Linked DNA regions of Homo sapiens: region 2 is linked to region 1. The links are contacts of gene promoters, found by promoter capture Hi-C in human tissues and cell types (Jung and others, 2019). All regions are on one chromosome and are shown on one strand. The core of a region is centred on a gene start or on the middle of the fragment in contact, and the rest is flanking DNA. Distances in the headings are between cores, read along the strand shown.

What was found. The method cuts DNA at HindIII sites, captures the fragments that hold promoters and counts their contacts. A contact is called where the count stands out against the background at its distance.
Region 2: a contact is called between a fragment that was not itself captured here and the fragment with the promoter of NEUROD1 in region 1, in 1 of the 25 tissues and cell types used here (mesendoderm cells).

What each region holds. Positions count from the first base shown.
Region 1 is chr2:181,677,055-181,682,320 of GRCh38, reverse strand. NEUROD1 (neuronal differentiation 1) reads left to right here and starts at 1,804. Exons shown (of 2, transcript NM_002500.5): 1 at 1,804-1,891; 2 at 3,450-5,266. The coding sequence starts at 3,461. The coding sequence ends at 4,531. RefSeq lists an enhancer at 578-1,154. The HindIII fragment of the contact is 10,799 bases long and covers 1-5,000 here.
Region 2 is chr2:181,635,437-181,640,818 of GRCh38, reverse strand. All of the region lies in intron 1 of CERKL (CERK like autophagy regulator), which reads left to right. Among named protein-coding and RNA genes, the nearest start is that of CERKL, 19 kb to the left of the region's middle. The HindIII fragment of the contact is 3,167 bases long and covers 1-2,961 here.

The DNA.
Region 1 (5,266 bases), core at 555-3,054:
TTCCTCTACCCCTACTCTCTCCTCCCGTCCCCACCCTCTCCCAGATGCACCCCAATCCAGCCTCTCAACCCTGTCGCTGTTTGCAAACTCGAGGGATGTTTAGTGCAATTGCCTTTAAATAAGCAATTCACGTAAGAGGTATTTATTGCAGAGGGTTTCAGGTCTGGGAGGGGGTAAGGAGTTAGTTAATGAAGGATTAGAGGCAAAGCTGGGAAAGAACGAGTAGACAGGCCAGTTTCTTTCTTTCTTTTTAAAATCTATTATTCTGGAAAACCCTTGTTCGAAAAGAGTAAAGAATTGCTATTTGGGCAACAATATGGCTCCTTCAGAACTGGTCGAGAATTTCTGTGGTCTTTGCTTGACCTTCAAGTTGGGAGTTTCAAATCAGAGGCTTTGAAGTCTGGAGGAGTTCGCAGCCATTAATCCTTCCGGGGTTGTGCTAAAGGCGTTTCTAGAAAGAGATCGGAAAGACCCGTTCAGCACAGGCCCATTGCATCTTCTCTTTGAAAACGCTTGTCTGAATCAAGTATCTTATACAGACCCGAGACTGAGGGGAGCAAGAGCGCAGGTCCGGCTGTGGCGAGGTGTCCACCACCGTACTTGTGGTCAATGCCTGGACTAGAGAGCCGAGGCCGTCCAGGGCGGGCTGGCCAGGGAACCAGAAGCGTCCCTGGACTGGCTGAGTGAGGGTGCCCTTTCCAGCAACCCAGTGGCCATGGTTAAAAGGCAGAATACAACCGTCAAAGAAGTCCCCAGCTCCCACATAAGAGAGCGCAAAGGCCAATGGAACCAAGGCCTCCTCGCGAGAACTAGCTCGCTTTGAGGACAAGATCCTGGGGATGGAGGTGGGGACTGACGTAGTGAGAGGGTCTGGAGGAACAGTCGTAGCTGAAGGTCAGGACATGAAGAATTGCACGTATGGTAGGGATAGAATGGCAGGTACAACTTTTCTGTACTGAAGGAACTGGGAGAGGACGATCCGGTTAGGGAGGTTGGGGAACTAATCTCAACGCTGCGTTTACAGATGAAGCCGCTTTTATATGGCGTATATGTTTGCTTAGAGGGGCCGACGGAGATTAGGAGAAGCCATCCTTTGGCGCCAATGATCAAAGCGTCTGCCAAGGAGAAGAAGCCAAGGGATGGGCCTTTCAGAGAGGGCAAGGAGTCATGCTGCTCTGGATGCCAGTGTCAGGACAAGAAATCGAAAGGAGCGAGGACTCTTCACTGCGTGCCTCAGTCTCCCCGCTTCTGCCTCTTTCACCTCTGTCCTACTTCCGGCGCGAAAGCAGGCCACTCGCTCTGATCTAGACCTAGTTAACATTAGCTTTTCCCTTCCTTCCCTCAAATCCCCTCCCCCCTCTATCCCCGTCCCTTCTGCCGCCTGAAAGGGTTAATCTCTCCTGCGGGTAAAAACAGGTCCGCGGAGTCTCTAACTGGCGACAGATGGGCCACTTTCTTCTGGCCACAAAGGGGCCGGAATGGAGCGCTCCGCGGCATACAAATGGGCAGGTCACGTGGTTCCAGGCTCTTGGCTGGACCGGGAAGACCATATGGCGCATGCCGGGGAGGAAGGAGGAGGGGCGGGGGTAGGGGTGGAGGGTGAGGGGAGCGGTTGTCGGAGGAGGGCGGGAGACGAGCAAGGCGTGGGGAGAAGTGGGGAGGAGGGGAGAACGGGGAGCGCACAGCCTGGACGCGTGCGCAGGCGTCAGGCGCATAGACCTGCTAGCCCCTCAGCTAGCGGCCCCGCCCGCGCTTAGCATCACTAACTGGGCTATATAACCTGAGCGCCCGCGCGGCCACGACACGAGGAATTCGCCCACGCAGGAGGCGCGGCGTCCGGAGGCCCCAGGGTTATGAGACTATCACTGCTCAGGACCTACTAACAACAAAGGTAATTACAGTTCTTTCATTTTTTTGCCCCAGAATAGAAGCAATAACTGAAGACTGATGAACCTACATATTCTGTATGTGTGCGTTTGCGAGAGTGTGTATGTGTATTGAGACCAGCATCCCCCTCCATAATTGCCCATAAGTACTCACACATAATGAGTCGTGTCACTCAAGTACCCCCTGCAGGCTTTCTAATTTAAATTTTAAAAATTTGGGTTTCTTTTGTGGATAGCATAGGAGCTTCTTGGATTTTTTAAAAGAATGCACGGTAACTATGATTATCTGCTAGTGCTGATTTTAAAGTCCCAAAAGCAATAATGACTTCACTTTCTCACTTCTTACAGTAAGAAAAAAAAATCTATGTTATCAATATATATTTTGTGTGCATGTATTTTACGCACATTGGGAGTGTCAAGCTGTGTTTTCAGTGAATGAAAGGGACATGGATACCTTGAGTATTCACACCATGGAAAATAAATCAGGTTCAGAGATAGTTTAGTTGAGAGGGGGGAAAGTGGAGAAAGGGAGAGGGACTCACTCCTGCTACCTGTTACCGCTCCAGAGGCGGCCAAGTCCCCAGCAGCCACTACTGGAGCCAGAAATTCAGTTGTTTTACTAAAGGCTTTTTATTTTCCTTACTAGAAGCGGCAACTTCGCGGTTGCCAATCGCTGACCATTATAATTACTCAATCTTTTAAAGGGAGGTTTGAGGCGAACTTTGAAAAGCCCCAATAAAGAGCGGGCGGCCCTTTCAATGGGCTGTTTATTAGAGAGGAGCCTTCCGCACCTGATCCCCGGCGCGTGGGAGAGCGCTCTGCGCCGCGCCCCCAGCCCTCGCCCTGCAGCTAGCGCTTTTGTACAAGGTGGAAATTTAGCGGTGGGCCAGAGATGGAAGGCAAGAAAAGAAAGGCGAGGGAGGGGTGGAAGACCCTGTCCACTTTTGTTGCCAAATGTTACATTGATGGTGAAACAATTTGGTGGAAACTATTTTTCCTCCTTTCTGCATTTGCTTTTCAGTATCCCGTCGATGTAATCTTCTTAAAAATCGCTGCCAGTATTAGTAAATTACGCAATGGCTGTTCAACTTAAATCGCTAAGTATCTGGAAGCCAGGACAGAAATGGAAGTAGAATGTGTGATTTTACAGCTTTTTTTTTTTTTTATGGAGTTGTGAGTAACTTTGAACACATTTGGATAAACATGAAGTCGCTGAAATGTACAGTCATTTCCACACACATTATCCTGTCGGGCAACCACCATAAACACATTTAAGTTAATCACTAGGATACAAACACATATGCGTGAGTGGTGTACACATATACATATTCACTACCCTCCCCCAGTCCTGTCCTCACTCCTACGTACTAGCGGGGCACACGCACGCGCCATTATAAAACACTGCATTTAACTTTTTCTCAGAGGCATTCATTTTGTAATGGGCAGGTACTTTTCGCAAGCATTTGTACAGGTTTAGGGAGTGGAAGCTGAAGGCGTATCTGGCTTTTGAATATAGCGTTTTTCTGCTTTTCTTTCTGTTTGCCTCTCCCTTGTTGAATGTAGGAAATCGAAACATGACCAAATCGTACAGCGAGAGTGGGCTGATGGGCGAGCCTCAGCCCCAAGGTCCTCCAAGCTGGACAGACGAGTGTCTCAGTTCTCAGGACGAGGAGCACGAGGCAGACAAGAAGGAGGACGACCTCGAAACCATGAACGCAGAGGAGGACTCACTGAGGAACGGGGGAGAGGAGGAGGACGAAGATGAGGACCTGGAAGAGGAGGAAGAAGAGGAAGAGGAGGATGACGATCAAAAGCCCAAGAGACGCGGCCCCAAAAAGAAGAAGATGACTAAGGCTCGCCTGGAGCGTTTTAAATTGAGACGCATGAAGGCTAACGCCCGGGAGCGGAACCGCATGCACGGACTGAACGCGGCGCTAGACAACCTGCGCAAGGTGGTGCCTTGCTATTCTAAGACGCAGAAGCTGTCCAAAATCGAGACTCTGCGCTTGGCCAAGAACTACATCTGGGCTCTGTCGGAGATCCTGCGCTCAGGCAAAAGCCCAGACCTGGTCTCCTTCGTTCAGACGCTTTGCAAGGGCTTATCCCAACCCACCACCAACCTGGTTGCGGGCTGCCTGCAACTCAATCCTCGGACTTTTCTGCCTGAGCAGAACCAGGACATGCCCCCCCACCTGCCGACGGCCAGCGCTTCCTTCCCTGTACACCCCTACTCCTACCAGTCGCCTGGGCTGCCCAGTCCGCCTTACGGTACCATGGACAGCTCCCATGTCTTCCACGTTAAGCCTCCGCCGCACGCCTACAGCGCAGCGCTGGAGCCCTTCTTTGAAAGCCCTCTGACTGATTGCACCAGCCCTTCCTTTGATGGACCCCTCAGCCCGCCGCTCAGCATCAATGGCAACTTCTCTTTCAAACACGAACCGTCCGCCGAGTTTGAGAAAAATTATGCCTTTACCATGCACTATCCTGCAGCGACACTGGCAGGGGCCCAAAGCCACGGATCAATCTTCTCAGGCACCGCTGCCCCTCGCTGCGAGATCCCCATAGACAATATTATGTCCTTCGATAGCCATTCACATCATGAGCGAGTCATGAGTGCCCAGCTCAATGCCATATTTCATGATTAGAGGCACGCCAGTTTCACCATTTCCGGGAAACGAACCCACTGTGCTTACAGTGACTGTCGTGTTTACAAAAGGCAGCCCTTTGGGTACTACTGCTGCAAAGTGCAAATACTCCAAGCTTCAAGTGATATATGTATTTATTGTCATTACTGCCTTTGGAAGAAACAGGGGATCAAAGTTCCTGTTCACCTTATGTATTATTTTCTATAGCTCTTCTATTTAAAAAATAAAAAAATACAGTAAAGTTTAAAAAATACACCACGAATTTGGTGTGGCTGTATTCAGATCGTATTAATTATCTGATCGGGATAACAAAATCACAAGCAATAATTAGGATCTATGCAATTTTTAAACTAGTAATGGGCCAATTAAAATATATATAAATATATATTTTTCAACCAGCATTTTACTACTTGTTACCTTTCCCATGCTGAATTATTTTGTTGTGATTTTGTACAGAATTTTTAATGACTTTTTATAATGTGGATTTCCTATTTTAAAACCATGCAGCTTCATCAATTTTTATACATATCAGAAAAGTAGAATTATATCTAATTTATACAAAATAATTTAACTAATTTAAACCAGCAGAAAAGTGCTTAGAAAGTTATTGTGTTGCCTTAGCACTTCTTTCCTCTCCAATTGTAAAAAAAAAAAAAAAAAAAAAAAAAAAAAAAAAATTGCACAATTTGAGCAATTCATTTCACTTTAAAGTCTTTCCGTCTCCCTAAAATAAAA
Region 2 (5,382 bases), core at 129-2,628, 41 kb after region 1:
ATTAAACCAGAGAGGGCAATCCAGATGGGGTTGTCCAAAGTAGGAAGTTCTGAAGTGAATTGCAGAAATCCAAACATGGCAAAGCTAAAGGAATAGAGAACCAGGGCAATGGATATAGAGAACAGAGCAATTGGGTATGCAGGAAGATGCTATTGCCTAGACTGGATGTTTTTGTACCCTCTGTAATTTGAGAAAATGGACCGTCCTTGTTGAAATGGTCAGGGATGTAGTAGATAAATTCATTGCAGTTGTGTAATCTCAGCACTAGAATACTGATCATAACCATATCACTTGTTATCCCACCTAGCCTGCCACTTGATTGGGTTATTAGATTACATTTCAGACATTGACAAGTCTACAAGCATCATTAAAATCCTAAACACAGACTTCTGACCGTATTCCTACCCAAGTTTTAGAAGCACTATGCCAATGACGGGGGTAGTATATGCTGAGCAGGTGAGTTTTGATTGTGTGTGTCTACATGTGTACGTGGGTGTGGTGAGCAACAGGAAGGAACTCTCAGCCATGACTCTAAATGCTCTTGTGTTGGCCAAAATTGGTATAAGCTAGGAGGAGAAACACAAAGGAGAGAGAGGCATGAAGTTGAAGGACATTAAACCATTTGCAAACTTTTGGCATGCAAACCAGAATATGAGGAAACTTAGTGTAATGGGTGACTGAATTCAGAGGTAGACAGGCAATCAGGAAGGTATAGGCACCAAAAATAGTTACCATTGGTGAGCGTTTTTGTTTTTGTCATTGGCATGGTGTTATGAACTTATGTTAAGCCTAAGGGTAAGTCTAAAATAATGTACCAGCTGGCATCAGGGAATTCCCATGTACATTCCTAGATTTTCATTAGAAACAGTGTTCTGGAAACTACCACTGCTGCTACACAGCAGTGCCCAGTGCTTGACTGAAAATAGTGAACACTTAGATTTGTTTACTCTGCCAGGTTCTGTGCTAAGTATCTTATCTTGTTTAACCTTAGCAAAGAAACTATGTAGTCTAGATAGAATTTTTATCCCTAGGGCCCAGAGGTGTTAAATAACTTGCCCAAGGTCATACCAGTAATTTCAGTTGCTGGGGTTCAAAGCTAGGCAGTCTGACTCCAGAGCCTGCACTGTCCCCATTTGGTTATGTTGCTTCCCCAGTTAAGCAAGCAAGAGTCTATCTGACATCTGAGTTGGTGGTAGTAAAGCATCATGGTCTGAACCAAAATAATAAAAACCTTTGAAACAACATTATCTGACTTCTTTCAGGCTTTTAAGACAGTTCCATCATCAACAGCTTATTCCATTTCTCTGGCCACTTCCAGTTTCTGAACAAATGAAGAAAATGGGAGTGATAAATTGGAGTTTTTAACAAGTTTTTTTAAATCTAATTTTTTTTATGGAAACCACCAAACATACCCAAATGTAGGAATAATTATGTAATAAGTCCTCATGTTCAACCCTAAGAGGGGTGAAGCTCTATGTGACCCATTACTGAGTTTAAACAGTTTTCAATTTATGGCCAGTCTTATTTCATCTATACTCTACCCACATCCCTTCTTCCCCTGGAATGATTGAAGTAATTCCTAGGCATCATATAATTTCATCTGTAAGCATCTCAGCATGTATCTCTAGGAGATAAAGATTTTCTAAAAAATCATATTACTACTCTTCAAATTTAAAATAATCTTTATAGTTTTACATATCCAGTTAGTGTCCAGATTTTCCTGATATTTTCTCTATTTTTTAAATATGTCAACCTTGAAATGAGGTCCATATTATAGCTGATGGCTATGCCTTTTAAATTTTCTCATCCACAGATTCTTCTTCCTTTTTTTTCCTTTCAATTTATGTTTTGAACAAACTAGTTTGGCCTATAGTTTCTCATGGGCAAGAATAACCTTCAGACTGGGATGGCCATCACTCTGATACCCGTAAAGGGGATGAGGCAGGTTGGGGAAGGGAGAGCCTCAGACCATGATCAGATGTCACAAGATTTTTGCTTACCTAGGGTGAGGACTTGGGAAAAAGATTGCCCATTAGGAGTCCTGCCTTGGGCAAAAGTGGCCAAACTTCAGCTGTGCTGTCACAGGCTGTGGGCTGCCTTGGAAATGTAGGACCTCAACTCCTCTGAAGTTGAGGTGGAGCTTGAGGGTACGAATCCCTGGTGGCCATTATAATGACTACACTCATTGGGATGGCATGGCAAGTTCATCCTCAAAGATGGATCCTAGCATCCACCATGACCAATGAGGTTTTTTTATTGTTATGATCACTATAAACTCAAGGATTTAAACCTATTAAATGTTTTTCAATTCACAGCAATGATTATTTTTACTGATCTTCAAATTGTCACATTTTGGATTTTTAGACCAATGGGAGCCCCTTCATCTTGACTTCTGAGTTCTTTTGACATTCACTCAGCTGTCTGATAGCTTCCCTGCTTTCTGGAATGGCAAGATATTCCAGGTTCATCTTGAACATTTCATGCTTGAGATATGGAATCAAGCTCATCATCAGAGGGTCCTGGTTCCTTTTACTGGATAGTGGTATTAGAGACCTCAATTTGAGAACTAAGCAACATCATTGCTAAAACTTCCCCTATGTGTACCTTGTTACTTAGGTTTTTCAAAGAACAGAGCTAGAAAATATGTTGGGTTTTTTTGTTTTGTTTTTAAAGAAAAAATGTATCATAGGATTATGCTGATACTTCCAATTCAAGTGCAGGCCTAAGCTTTTCACATTGTCTCTTTTCTCCTACCCTTAAAGTCCTGATTCCTAACTATAACAACATCATTACTCATTTGCTTTATCCTGCATTATGTAGACACAATAGAGTAACAACACCAATGCTGCCAATCAAAAGTATAATTACTGAAACCCACTTAAGATAGTCCTGCAATTTTTTTTTTTGTTCATAGAGTGTACACTACTAGGGAGGTGTAGTCAAATTACTATGTTTTAAAGACACTTGGAATAATTCATATCTGTGAAGTTATACCCCCAACTTATTTGTTTTTTGTATTATTGTTTCATTTTGCTTTTGATGTTTAGGCATTTCTTTTTTAAAAATCAATTTTATAATTACGTGAAATACTTATATGGTTCCAAAATCAAATCTACTAAACAAACTATATTCTAGGAAGTATAGCTTTTATGTTTCCCTTCTATGCTTTTCCTTCCTTCCTGTAGGTAGGAAAGCTTATTTGTTCCTCAAAGCTCTGGGTTGTTCTTTTATTTTATATAAATAAACATGTGCATATATTCTTTTCATTACCCCCACAGTACCCACCGTCTTAAACACATGTACAATATATGTGTTTTTCTACCTTGATTTCTTTCTTACTTAGCAATATGCCCAGAAGTTCACTCTGTAGCGCTTTACATCAGCATCAAAATCCATTATGTACTATCGTTTATTGACCTCTCTGTTGGAGAAATTTGGATTGTTTCTAGTCATTTTTGTTATCGCAAATAGTGGTTTAATAAAAAACTTTACTTTCCGTTTTTTGTTTTTCAATGTGCTTTTAGGATAGATGCCTAGAAGTGAGATTGTTGAGTCAAAGAATAAATGTGTTAATAATTTTGCTCAATATTACCAAATTCTTTCAAAAGGGTTGTGCAATTTTGCTTTTTAAAATCATTATTGTATAAGGGCATGTATTTCCTGAAAATTTCTCCAGAAGAGTTTATTGCCAAACTTTAAAAAAACAGCCTGATACATAATAAATGATATCTCAGCATAGTTTAAATTTGCATTTTTCTTGTTAAATCATTCATGTTTTTACTGTAGTCCTCCTAACATTTAGGGAGCACCAATTATGGGGTCTCTAGAAGGTTCCAGGATTCTGTAATCAATTTGACATGATTTCTGTCTTCAGATATTCACAATCTTCAGGAAGATATATTGACAAAAGAATAACTACATGATCTATTTTGTGTGCAACTTAGTACTTACAGAGCATTATAAATGCACATGGAAAAATAGGTAAAGGAGAAAATCATTCTCTGTTGGGCGGGCTGAGGGGGAAGTCAGGAAAAGCTACAGAGAGGTTCGAGGGTAAACTTTAATGTGGGCCTTGAAGTATGATTTGGAGTTAGCAAGACAGACAAAGGAGCAAGGAAACCATTCTAGAAAAAGAAAATTTTGAAAAATCTCCAGAAAAGGATGCTTTGGCCTATTTGGAAAATAACATTGTCTTATTTATGGGGGAGATGACAGTGCTTTGTTTTTAGTCAGTAGTTTATACAGGACTTTGAATAGCATGCAAGGAAGTTGGCGTCTCAACCTGAAAATTGAGGAAGGTGTGACAAAGGCTGGGCATTAGGTGAGATCAAGTATTTCTGTTTTTTTTTTTGGTAAATTAGGTAGCAGGATAGATTATAAATGGGCTCCACACTGAGGAGCCCAGTGTGATGGCTGATCCAGCAGATCAGGGGGCAGTGGCTGCAAAGCTGGGAGAATGGCAAGGTAAGCCTGGATGCAAGGGATATTGTCAAAGACAAAATTTGGGGGATGTGAGGCTTAAAAGGGAAATAAATAATGGTGATGGTGAGATTTCTAGCTTGGGCAGTGGGATAGATAGTAGACGCTGCGCAAATTCGTTTTTAAATCAGCAGAATGAGAAGCATCTTATTTGAAATATATTCTACCAAATCTTAGCATCAAATGTGCTAGTGACTAGCAAAATATGTAAACAGAAGGGAAGTAGCTTGAAAAGTACACAAACTGGAGAAATTGCTCCTGAAGGACTGTAAGTTGAACCCTTTTAAGCCTAAGATCTGTATTTCCTATGAGCCCTAGGCTCTTTCCTTGTGTATCCTGTTTCTTATTAGAGTAGAGGCTACTTAAAAATAATCATAGTTTAAAGCGCTCTATTTTCAGAAAACATTATTCATTAGATGTTAGTAAATAATGTAATCTTTATACATTCATAATATTTCTGCATTATTGGAGTGTAAAAAGTCAGTGAAATAGTCATTTGTAAAGATGTCAGTTTTTATCTGTGGAAAATAGCTGTTCATACCATTTTAAGCTTAAAAGTTCTTCATTTACTTCTTAAAATATCCATGTTGGTATTATTTTGTCTAATACAAGTAATTAATATTTACCCCAAATTAAGCTTTTAAGTTTACTAAATGTTACAAACATAATTCAAAGCACTGTTTAGTGTCCATCTGTGCAGGAAAAATAAGATCAATACAATTGAGCAGCTGTTAGCATGTATTGGTTTCCTTATATTTTAAGTATGTTTTCATGTTTTGAAGGTGTAAAGGGATGACAGTATGTTTTGTTGTGGTTTTCATCATACAGATAAAAACTTATTACAGTTGAAATCTTGGTGAACATAATACATTTTAAAATTTCCATTCCTCACCCATTTATCTA